Linked DNA regions of Homo sapiens: region 1 is linked to region 2. The links are contacts of gene promoters, found by promoter capture Hi-C in blood cells and fetal thymus (Javierre and others, 2016). All regions are on one chromosome and are shown on one strand. Each heading gives the region's core, a stretch centred on a gene start or on the middle of the fragment in contact. The rest is flanking DNA. Distances are from core to core; before and after follow the strand shown.

What was found. The method cuts DNA at HindIII sites, captures the fragments that hold promoters and counts their contacts. A CHiCAGO score of 5 or more calls a contact.
Region 1: a fragment that was not itself captured here is called in contact with the fragment with the promoter of PSMD6 in region 2 in 1 of 17 cell types (total CD8 T cells); the score reaches 6.5 in total CD8 T cells.

Annotation. Positions count from the first base shown.
Region 1 is chr3:63,889,026-63,893,980 of GRCh38, reverse strand. All of the region lies in intron 1 of ATXN7 (ataxin 7), which reads right to left. Among named protein-coding and RNA genes, the nearest start is that of ATXN7, 28 kb to the right of the region's middle. The HindIII fragment of the contact is 5,625 bases long and covers 1-4,506 here.
Region 2 is chr3:64,021,803-64,027,094 of GRCh38, reverse strand. PSMD6 (proteasome 26S subunit, non-ATPase 6) reads left to right here and starts at 3,601. Exons shown (of 8, transcript NM_014814.3): 1 at 3,601-3,820; 2 at 4,572-4,777. The coding sequence starts at 3,676. LOC105377121 (a long non-coding RNA gene) reads right to left here and starts at 3,020. Exons shown (of 3, transcript XR_940906.3): 1 at 2,944-3,020; 2 at 2,353-2,470; 3 at 735-883. RefSeq lists a silencer at 3,393-3,492 and enhancers at 3,055-3,676, 3,643-3,992, 3,677-4,299. The HindIII fragment of the contact is 6,204 bases long and covers 182-5,292 here.

The DNA.
Region 1 (4,955 bases), core at 445-2,944, 130 kb after region 2:
AGTCATATTCTCCAGAAATACAAATTAATATGGCATCTAGTTTACTCCCTCTCTTTGGACCCCAGTTCCACCTTGCTTTCACTCTCACAGGCTTTCTCCTTGGCAAAGCAAATTTAAGAATGAAACTCTATACACAACCTCTTTTTTCAATGGTGCTACTGTATTCCCCTCTTCAAGGGTTAGAGAGTTTTTCTACCTGCTGAGCTACAGCCACTGCTCAGAGTTACTCCACTGAAGATCAAGTCAATGTGAAAACACACAAGTGGAGAGGGAGCCAAGGCCAATTGTGAGGAAGGGCTCCAGTAACTCTGGCCTGGGTTTCTTGAGTACATTTCAGCCACTGCAGTCAGTCCTAGGGCTTTCTCAACACTTCGTAGAACGCCTCATGTGGAGTCTTATTTTTAAAGGAGCCTCCATTTTCTAACAGCTTCTATTAGTATATACCTACACAATGTTCAGTCCCTCTGCTCTCTCCAAATATGTTCAATATAGCCATCCTTCACTCTTTTGCCATTTCAGGACACACAGTTCTCCCATCTTGAGCCTATCTCTCCCAGGCTTCACTGAGGTTAACTAGGTTCCCTCTTCTTTTAGCAAAGAAAGGTCAGCAAGGCATTTTTCTATCCATTATTTGTGACTACAGGGCACCATTTCACCATTAGCTAAAAGTAAAATATAAAATTCCCAGTAATTCTCCAATTTGTCATTGTGCAAAACCCTGATCAAGTCAGTAGATTTGAAAGTCAATTTATAAAAGCACATGACAATAATAATAGTAGTAGTAGCTGACATTTACTGAACACTTACCATGCGCCCAGTAATAAAAAGTAAGCCTTTTACATGCATCATTTCACTTAGACCTCCCATCTATAACACAGGAACTCTTTCTGTGCTCCTTTATCAGAAAATTGAGGCTTGTGAGATGAGGCCAATAAAAGCTGAGGTAGTGCATGTTAGAGTTGAGCTTAAAACCATTCCCTCCACTGCAATACACCACAATTCCCACCTGTTTCTCCACACCTGTTGTTCATGCCTCCTTGAACTCCTTTCTTACTTTCCAAGTAACTCACATCTAGACTTCAAAACCCAGCTCAGATGAAACCTCATCAGGTCATCATGCCTACTGCCCTAGGTGGGCTTCCTGGAGGCTGGGTCTGCAACATTTCATTCTTGTATCCCTAGGGCCCAATGTTGTTAAGTGTTAATAAATGCCTGATGAATTGAATTGGATAAAATGGAACCACAGGTCCTGACGGCTACCCAGCCACTCAGGTTAATATGTGCCTGGAGTGGGATGCTATTGCCTTGCTAAGAACCCGCAATTAGGCCAGTGGAATAAAGAGCTGCTCTGGCATTTACCTTCACTCTCACCAGGCAAACTCACCTATAGACATCAATGCTAAGGAAGGGAGAAGGAGGGATAAGAGGCAAATTAAAGTCCAGTACTCCGGTTGACAGGAGTTGGGGTGTGTGTGTGTGTGTGTGGGTGTGTGTGTGTGTGTGTGTGTGTGTGAAGGAGCGATAAGAGGCAAATTAAAGTCCAGTACTCCTGTTGACAGGAGTTGGCGGGTGTGTGTGTGTGTGTGTGTGTGTGTGTGTGTGTGTGGTAGAGGTGTCTTTAAAGTTGACTGGGAGGAGGAAAGCCTGGGGAACAGAGAGAGTTTGTTCCCCAATAGTCTACCAGGGGAACGTTAATCTCCTATGACTGGCCTGGGGTTACAAAATTCTAAAATTCATATATGTGTCCTCAGTCAAGTCATTCTTTGCTAGTCTAGCATGGTCCCTTAGGATAGATGTTAAATAAATGAACAGCTAGCACGCGTTTTACTCTGAGGCCATACTTATCAACACTACCAATAAGAACAATTTTCGCTGAGTGCTTAACTTGGATCAGACCCTCTGCTAAACTCTGTACATGCACTGTCTTGTTTAATCTTCACCACAGCCCTACAAAGAATACTTGTAAGTGAGGAAATGCAGGTCTGTAACAGATAAATGGCTTCCCAAAGGTCACTTACCAAATGACTGACAGTAAGGGCAGTGGCTAGTGGGATAAATGTAGTTTTCATTAATAATGCTCGTACAGTTTTTAATTATTCTACCCACCTCTTTAAATATTACCTCCTAAATACAGGCTGAGCAGCACACAACAAATTTCACTCTTCTCTAAAAGATCCAGGGAAAATGCTTCCACTTCTACTAAGCCTTTGTAAATACTATTTGTGATAGAGATCGCCAATAGTCACCTATATTTACATTCTCTGCCTGAGCACATAGTTTGCCTAAATTTCCCAATATTCATTGCAGTAAGGTAGAGACATGTGACTGAATCCAAAATGTGAACAAAAATGTTGTGTAAGCCAGGTGTGATGGCTCACGCCTGTAATCCCAGCACCTTGGGAGGCTGAGGAGGGAGGATCCCTTGAGGCCAGGAGTTCGAGATCAGCCTAGGCAACACAGCGAGACTCCATCTCTATGAAAATTAAAATAAATAATTAGCCAGGTGTGGTGTCTCACACCTGTAGTCCCAGCTACTTGGGAGGCTGAGGCAGGAGGATCACTTGAGCCCAGGAGTTCAAGGCTGCAGTGAGCTATGACTGTGCCACTGTACTTCAGCTAGTGCAAAAGAGCAAGACCCCATCTCTTAAAAAAAAAAAAGTGCTGGGGCCAGGTGCAGTCGCTCGTCGCTCACGCCTGTAATCCCAGCACTTTGGGAGGCTGAAGTGGGCAGATCACTGAGATCAGGAGTTCCAGACCAGCCTGGCCAACAAGGTGAAACCCCATCTCTACTCAAAATACAAAAATTAGCCAGGCGTGGTGCTGCGTGCCTGTAGTCCCAGCTTCTCAGGAGGCTGAGGCACAAGAATCACTTGAACCCGGGAGGTGGAGGTTGCAGTGAGCCGAGATGGTGCCACTGCACTCCAGCCTGGGTGACAGAGCAAGACTCTGTCTCAAAATAAACAAATAAATAAAATAAAATAAAATAAAATAAAAAAAGAAATGTTGGGTGCCACACTTCTGGGCTAGGCCCATACAAACCTCTCTGGCTTGAGCTTCAGTCTCTCCTACCCTCTGTTGGTCAAATGGAAAGGGCTCCAAGTACTTACAGGAGGGCAGAGCCACACAATTTCACTCCTGAATGACTGGGGGAATCAACACACTCTGAGCCTCCTTGCCAACACACTCTGAGCTTAAACAAGAAATAAACATTATATTGTGTTAAGGCACTGGGGTTTTGGGTCATTATAGCAGTTAGCCTACTCTTATAAAGTATTCTTACTATCGTCATAATTTTCATTACCAACAGCAACCGCTACAATTTATTGAAGGTATACTAAGTAGTAGGCATTATATTAAGTCTTTTATATACATTATTTTATTTACTTCTACGAGGTAGCAAAATCATACAGATAACAAAATCAAGGGTCAGAGATCAGTAATCATTTCCTCTTCTGAATATTAAAGCATTTACAATCTGAAAGATTTCAAAAATAATTATGTAATGCCCTGTTATACATGTTACATTGATGGGTTAAGCAGTTTAAGTCCTGTAGTTAGTTGATATTTTCCTTTAACTCAAAACTTGTTTCCCTCATTTGGATAAACAGCTAAGAGGAGAGGGGCTGGGTCTTACATGTCTAAATTCTGTATCATTTTACACACTGTCTCATGAATATACAAATTAATAGATATAATTATATTCTTTAAACCATTTCTCACAGGCATATATGCACTATGTCTCACTCTTTCTCTACTGTGTTTTGGTCAACAAACCCCTTGAGTAAATCTGACCAAGAAAATTGGCTTGCTACAAACAGTTGCTTAGGATGCTGTTTATTTCAGATCCATAACTTAATGAGTATCATTAATGAAATTTTTCAATACTGCAGTTACATGCATGAATGAACATAAACACTTAGCAAAGTGGCTGGCATATAGCTGATGGTCAATAAATGATTGTTTCCCTTCTCCTCTATCCCAATAGCTACTTTAAGTACAATCATATGCTGCTTAAAGAAAACAAATGTGATCAAGGGAAAAATGTTAAGCTGGTAAGTAGAGGATGATTTTAATTACCAGGAATATTTTCCCAACTGGGAGGAAGACTATCTAAAATGTTAGGAGCTAGGGCCAAACAAAAATCATTTGCTAGTTGCAAGATTACCCTATTCATAAAAATCTGTCCTGACACAACCTCAGGAACATGAATTCTGGAGAAGCTGAGGAGCCAGTGCTTATTCACTGCCATGTGCTGCAGAATGGTATCCTGGGATTCACTTTCTATTTGCTCAGTGCTATAGGTTTGACCATGTGGCATTCCCTAGAGCCATGGTATCATTATTTGCAGCCAAACACTAACATGCCCTCCTATAGATCCTAGAATATTCTCCGTATTTTGTCAGAAAATAGTATACCAGCATCTGAAGATTTGATTTTTCTGAGGCTATTTCTAGCCCTTGCCTATCCATAGAACTCCATTTCCTACTTAAGACATTCAAAGAAGCTTAACATGATGCAGACACTTGATTTCGTATGGTGACATTCCACAATTCTGTGACATAAGCTTTGCATTAGTTAATTAATGTAAATATTTCAACTGCTGTTCATTTAAATATCATGTTCCAAAAAGTCTCTCTCCTTTGAAGATTTCAAGATGAAATGGAGTACAAATATGGTCAGTTACTTTATTTGGTATAAACATTGGGACTTCTTATTCCTGCTCTTCATCAATTGTAATATCTACTTTGTTGATAGGATGGACTTTTCCCAGGGTAATTTTCCCTTTAACATCAAGGTATCATCCTTAACAGCAGGCAATAAGGTTAATGCTATAATCAGCTATTACGTCGGCATATTCGACTTTAGCTGCTGTTCAAATATAGCAACACAGAGTATGGAACACCCAAGCTAGAAATATATGGTCTTAAAATTAGTGAATCAAACTCTGGGTAACA
Region 2 (5,292 bases), core at 2,352-4,851:
ATTATGCGTCTATACTAGGACGAACTGGAAACCAGAATGAACCAGTCACATACAATTTAAACTACAAGACTATTTATACAGGTTTCCCCCTATACTTCAACATGAGTTTTGGATCATACATCCAATTCTTGTCACAAATGTAAACAGGCTGATACATTTAACTATGTAAACATTGTAAGCTTTTATGTTGAAGAAAAACCCCTAAAAATTTAGAAAAATAAATGAGGGGGGAAACTGTGATACTTGGAAATTAACAAAGTTAATATCCTTAAAATATGAAGATTGCTTACTAGTCAGTGAGGAAAGATTCCATAGAGAATTGACAAAGCCAAACAAGAATTTCATAAAACAGAAAATATATGTGGTCAGTAAAATGTGAAAAAAAGATTAACCTCACCAATCATAAAAGGAATGCAAAGGAAAAGCAACTGTTAGCAAAACTTAAAATAGCTGATGAAAGTACATTGGGAGACAGGTCTGATGGGGTTCAGGACACGCAATCTCAAAATATCACACCTTGTGCTTTGAGGAAGTGGTAGAAGCAGGAAGGTCACTCTCATCTTCTCTGTGCCCTTCTCGCTTGAAGCCAGTTATAAAAGAATTCCCTGAACTTCCTATAAGGTAGGTCATAAGACCCTCATTCCAAACATATTATCCCTATGCTCAAAGAAAAGAAATCCCTTATATATGAAGATACAGGGACACAGAGAAGAATCTGAACACACAGACCTTGGTAAGTCCCCCCAGTTTATTACCATCACATCACACCCCCTTTGACCAATCATACTTCTACATAACTGTCCATTCTTCATCAAATTTACCTTACAAATATACAGATTTCTTCATTTCTTTGGGTCTTCATTTCCAAAGGCTCTCATGTCACCTAAAATTTATATTAAATATATTTGTATGCTTTTCTTCTGTTATTTTATTTATTTTATTTTTTTTGAGACAAAGTGTCACTCTGTCACCCAGGTTGGAGTGCAGTGGCACAATCTCAGCTCACTGCAACCTCCGCCTGCTGGGTTCAAGCAATTCTCCTGCCTCAGCCTCCCGAGTAACTGGGACTACAGGTGTGCGCCACCATGCCCTGCTAATGAGGTTTCACCATGCTGGCCAGGCTGGTCTCAAATTCCTGACCTCGTGATCTGCCTGCCTCAGCCTCTTAAAATGCTGGGATTACAGGTGTGAGCCACCTCTCCTGGCCCTGCTATTCTATCTTTTATTATAGGTGCCTCAGCTATGAACCTCGCAATGGGTGAAGAAAGGATACTACTTTTTCTCCCCTGCAGGTTCTCTGTTCAATATTAGTGGCAATGTAAATTGATATATATATCATTTGTGGAAAATAATTCATAAAATACTTACAGAATACATCAAAATATAAAATATTAATGCCCTCTTATTCAGCAATTGCACGTCTAGAGATTTAGATTGAGAAATAACTATTTAAGTGTGAAAATATATATGTACACGGATAAGTGACACTGTAATATTAATAAGATTGAAAAAAACAAAAATAACCCAAATCAACCAGCACTTAAGGACTGATGAAGAAAAAGTTGGTATAGAAATATAATGGGCCGGGTGTGGTGGCTCACACCTGTAATCCCAGCATTTTGGGAGGCTGAGGTGGGCGGATCTCCTGAGGTCAGGAATTCGAGACCAGCCTGGCCAATATGGTGAAACCCCGTCTCTACTAAAAATACAAAAATTAGCCAGGCTTGGTGGCACGTGCCTGTAATCCTAGCTACTCAGGAGGCCAAGGCAGGAGAATCGCTTGAACCCGGGAGATGGAGGTTGCAGTGAGCCAAGATCACCCCACTGTACTCCAGCCTGAGATCCGTCTCAAACAGAGTGAGATCCGTCTCAAAAATAACAAACAAACAGAAATAAATATAATGGAATCCTATATGGTCAATCCATTGTCATCCAAGATATCCACAATACATGGTAGAATGAATAAAACACAGTTTAAAATGTGCGAGTATAGAATGATCATGTTAATATACCCAGATGAGTTTTAAAGAAGCTATGCTTCTCTGGAATGTAAGTTCCAAAGACAGGGCTTTGTGCTCTTCACTGCTGAGTCCTTGAGGCCTAAGACAGTGCCTGGTACTTTGTAACCATGCAATCATGTTTGTTGAATGACTAAATGAAAGAATTTTAGAAAGTTTTTTACCAAAAGTTTAGCAGTGGTGGAGAGCTATTTAATAGTATTTTTTTTTTACTCTTCATATTTTCTCTATCATTTGAGTTGTCTTCAAAATGCTTGTTTCATTTTTATAGAAACAAATAATAGATTTAAATTATGTGATGATGCCTACTGCCTGTGAGATGTGGCAGTCTCACCTGTTTCAGCAGCTGTGTAAACTGGTTCAGCTCTTTTGGAAAACCATTTAACATTAAATATCCCCAAGTCACAAAATCCTTCTTCCCTTTGTCCGTTATTCCTTCATGGGATTTTATGCTAAGGAAAAAGATGCAAAACATGAAGTGATCTAGACATCCAAAGTCTTCATCCAAGTTTTTATATTAGGTAAGTAAAAACTCTGGTCAACCTAAAGACACCTCTAACAGAGGGAAGAGTGAAAGTAAATTATGGTAAATCCATTAGATGGAATTTAGGCCAGGCATGGTGGCCCACACCTGTAATCCCAGCACTTTGGACGACTGAGGCGGGGGAATCACTTGAGGTCAGAAGGTCAAGACCAGCCTGGCCAACATGGTGAAACCCCGTCTCTACTAAAAATACAAAAATTAGCCCGGCATGGTGGTGCAGGCCTGTAATCCCAGCTACTTGGGAGGCTGAGGCAGGAGAATCGATTGAAGCTGGGAGGCAGAGGTTGCAGTGAGCCAAGATTGTGCCACTGCACTCCAGCCTGGGTGACAGGGCAAGACTCCGTTTCAAAAAAAAAAGGAATTTAATGTAAAGATTACCACCTCTGAAGATCTGTAGCAATGTGAACAAAAGGAAGCTGAAAATGCAGGCATGTAATGATTTAATTTATGTGTAAACAAAACGATGATGCTGTTGTACTATGACGTAGAATCCTGGGTGCAGTTTTTTTTTCTTCTTAAAACCGCAGAAAGAATGTGGATTTTAGAGTTCTAGATAGGGGTTTTCATTTAGGCCTTGCGACATGGCTGTTACATGACCTTGGTTGGTCTGTTTCCCTAACCTCTTTGTGCCTCATTTGTCTTACCTACTAAATAGGCTAATAGTACTACCTCGCAGCATGAAGATGATTTTAATAAGATGAATGAGAGTAACGACTCGACAAACTATGGTGATTGTTTTTATTAATGCTGTTATTACATTTTCAGTTTTCAAAAAATTTTAAGCTCCCATCAGTTACAAACGGAAAGTAAAATAGCTAAAAAGGGAGTGAGAAAGAGATTCAAGAAATTGGGCTTTTGAGTTGGGCTGCACCCACTCTGGGACTCCGCAGGGGGCCTTGAGGGTGGAAAAGCCCCCGTGACCACACAGGGGCGCAGGCGCCCAGGCCGGGTGAGGCGTTCCCGGAGGTGTCCAGCAGAGGACGCTGCCGGCGGAGACGGGACCGGAAGCCGGGCCGCAGGCGGCCGGGCGTATTCGCCGACTCCTCCCGCTTCCGCTGCCGCAGCCGGTCGTAACCAAGTTGTGTCCTGTCAGCCGCTGTCCCCTTCGCCGCGATGCCGCTGGAGAACCTGGAGGAGGAGGGTCTGCCCAAGAACCCCGACTTGCGTATCGCGCAGCTGCGCTTCCTGCTCAGCCTGCCCGAGCACCGCGGAGACGCTGCCGTGCGCGACGAGCTGATGGCGGCCGTCCGCGATAACAGTGAGGCCCGCACGAGCGCCGAGTCAGCGGCCTAGGCCTGGGCCGTCCCCGCGTTCCGGAGCCTGCGGGGACTTTTTTTGATGGAGCTCCAGACCCCTCTGACGGGGTCTCAGAGACCAGGCCTGGCTTCTCCGGCCCTTAGGGTTTTGCTTTGGTTTGGGGATACCCTGGGGGACCTCGACTTGCCTCAGCGGGGTCTGCATCTCTCTGTGCCGCCTTCCCCTGTAAGGGCAGCTTGGGGGAGAATCGTGAGGCATTAATATTTACCCCTGTGCTAGGCACAGAGTAAAGGCCCCGTGACTTTCTGTCAGTGGGGACTGCTCCCGGGCGCGGGGTATTCCTGTGGGAGAGTTCAGCTTGCCTGTGGAAGGGAAATTTGGGTTCGGTTCTTTCTGGCCCTTCTGTAGTGAATGTGTATGTTTGAACATATGTATGTGAGTATGTGTGTATAAAAAGTCTTTCCCTGTTTGAAGACTTTTGGAACAGAATCCGGCAAGAGCAAACCGAGGATTGCCCTCCCTCCAGCCCTAGTAGAGGTTGGCATTGCCAGGATTGGCCGTCACGCAAACCTCCCACCAGCATACGTTTATGTTTTGCCAAGCCGATTATTAAGCGCCATCGCATGCCTTCCTGTTAGTGGGGAAGAGACTGGTGGATGACTTGTGGCGGGGCGGGGGGTGAAATACGTGGGCAGACTTTGACTTGAGGGCACAAGTGTCCCCACTCACACATCCCTCTTTTTGCATGTTAGACATGGCTCCTTACTATGAAGCCTTGTGCAAATCCCTCGACTGGCAGATAGACGTGGACCTACTCAATAAAATGAAGAAGGCAAATGAAGATGAGTTGAAGCGTTTGGATGAGGAGCTGGAAGATGCAGAGAAGAATCTAGGAGAGAGCGAAATTCGCGATGCAATGATGGCAAAGGCCGAGTACCTCTGCCGGATAGGTGACAAAGTGAGTAGAGATGGTTTTCCCTCTCTGTAGTTAGTATAGGCTAAAATTGGAGACTATTCCAGGTAATCGTTTCTCATTAAAAAAATTAACTTCGTTTTAGAAAAAGTATAAAGGTAATCATGCTTGCTTGTACTGGTGAATCAATGTAAAGATGAAAAAGTCGTCTCCATGAAATGCCTTGTCATTTCCCCAAACAGCAGCTAGGGCTGTATTCTTCCCCATTTCACCCCATGCCGATAAAAACGTAAGTGTACATCTAGAGAATTTTATTTACTGCTTTTACAAAATTGGGATCATTTTCAGCAGTTTTCTCACTTGGTTGGGAAGCACTGGTTCTGGTGTCTTTAGTACTTTACACGAGTAATACTTAGCAGAAACTAAGAAACAGTATAGTAAATGCTGAAGTTCTGTTATCTTTCTTTACTCTGTACCTGCCCAGGGATAGGCTTTTCAGTTCTTTTATTGTGCATTTATGCAAACTTTTTGGTAATTTTTTTTTTTTTTTTGAGACGGAG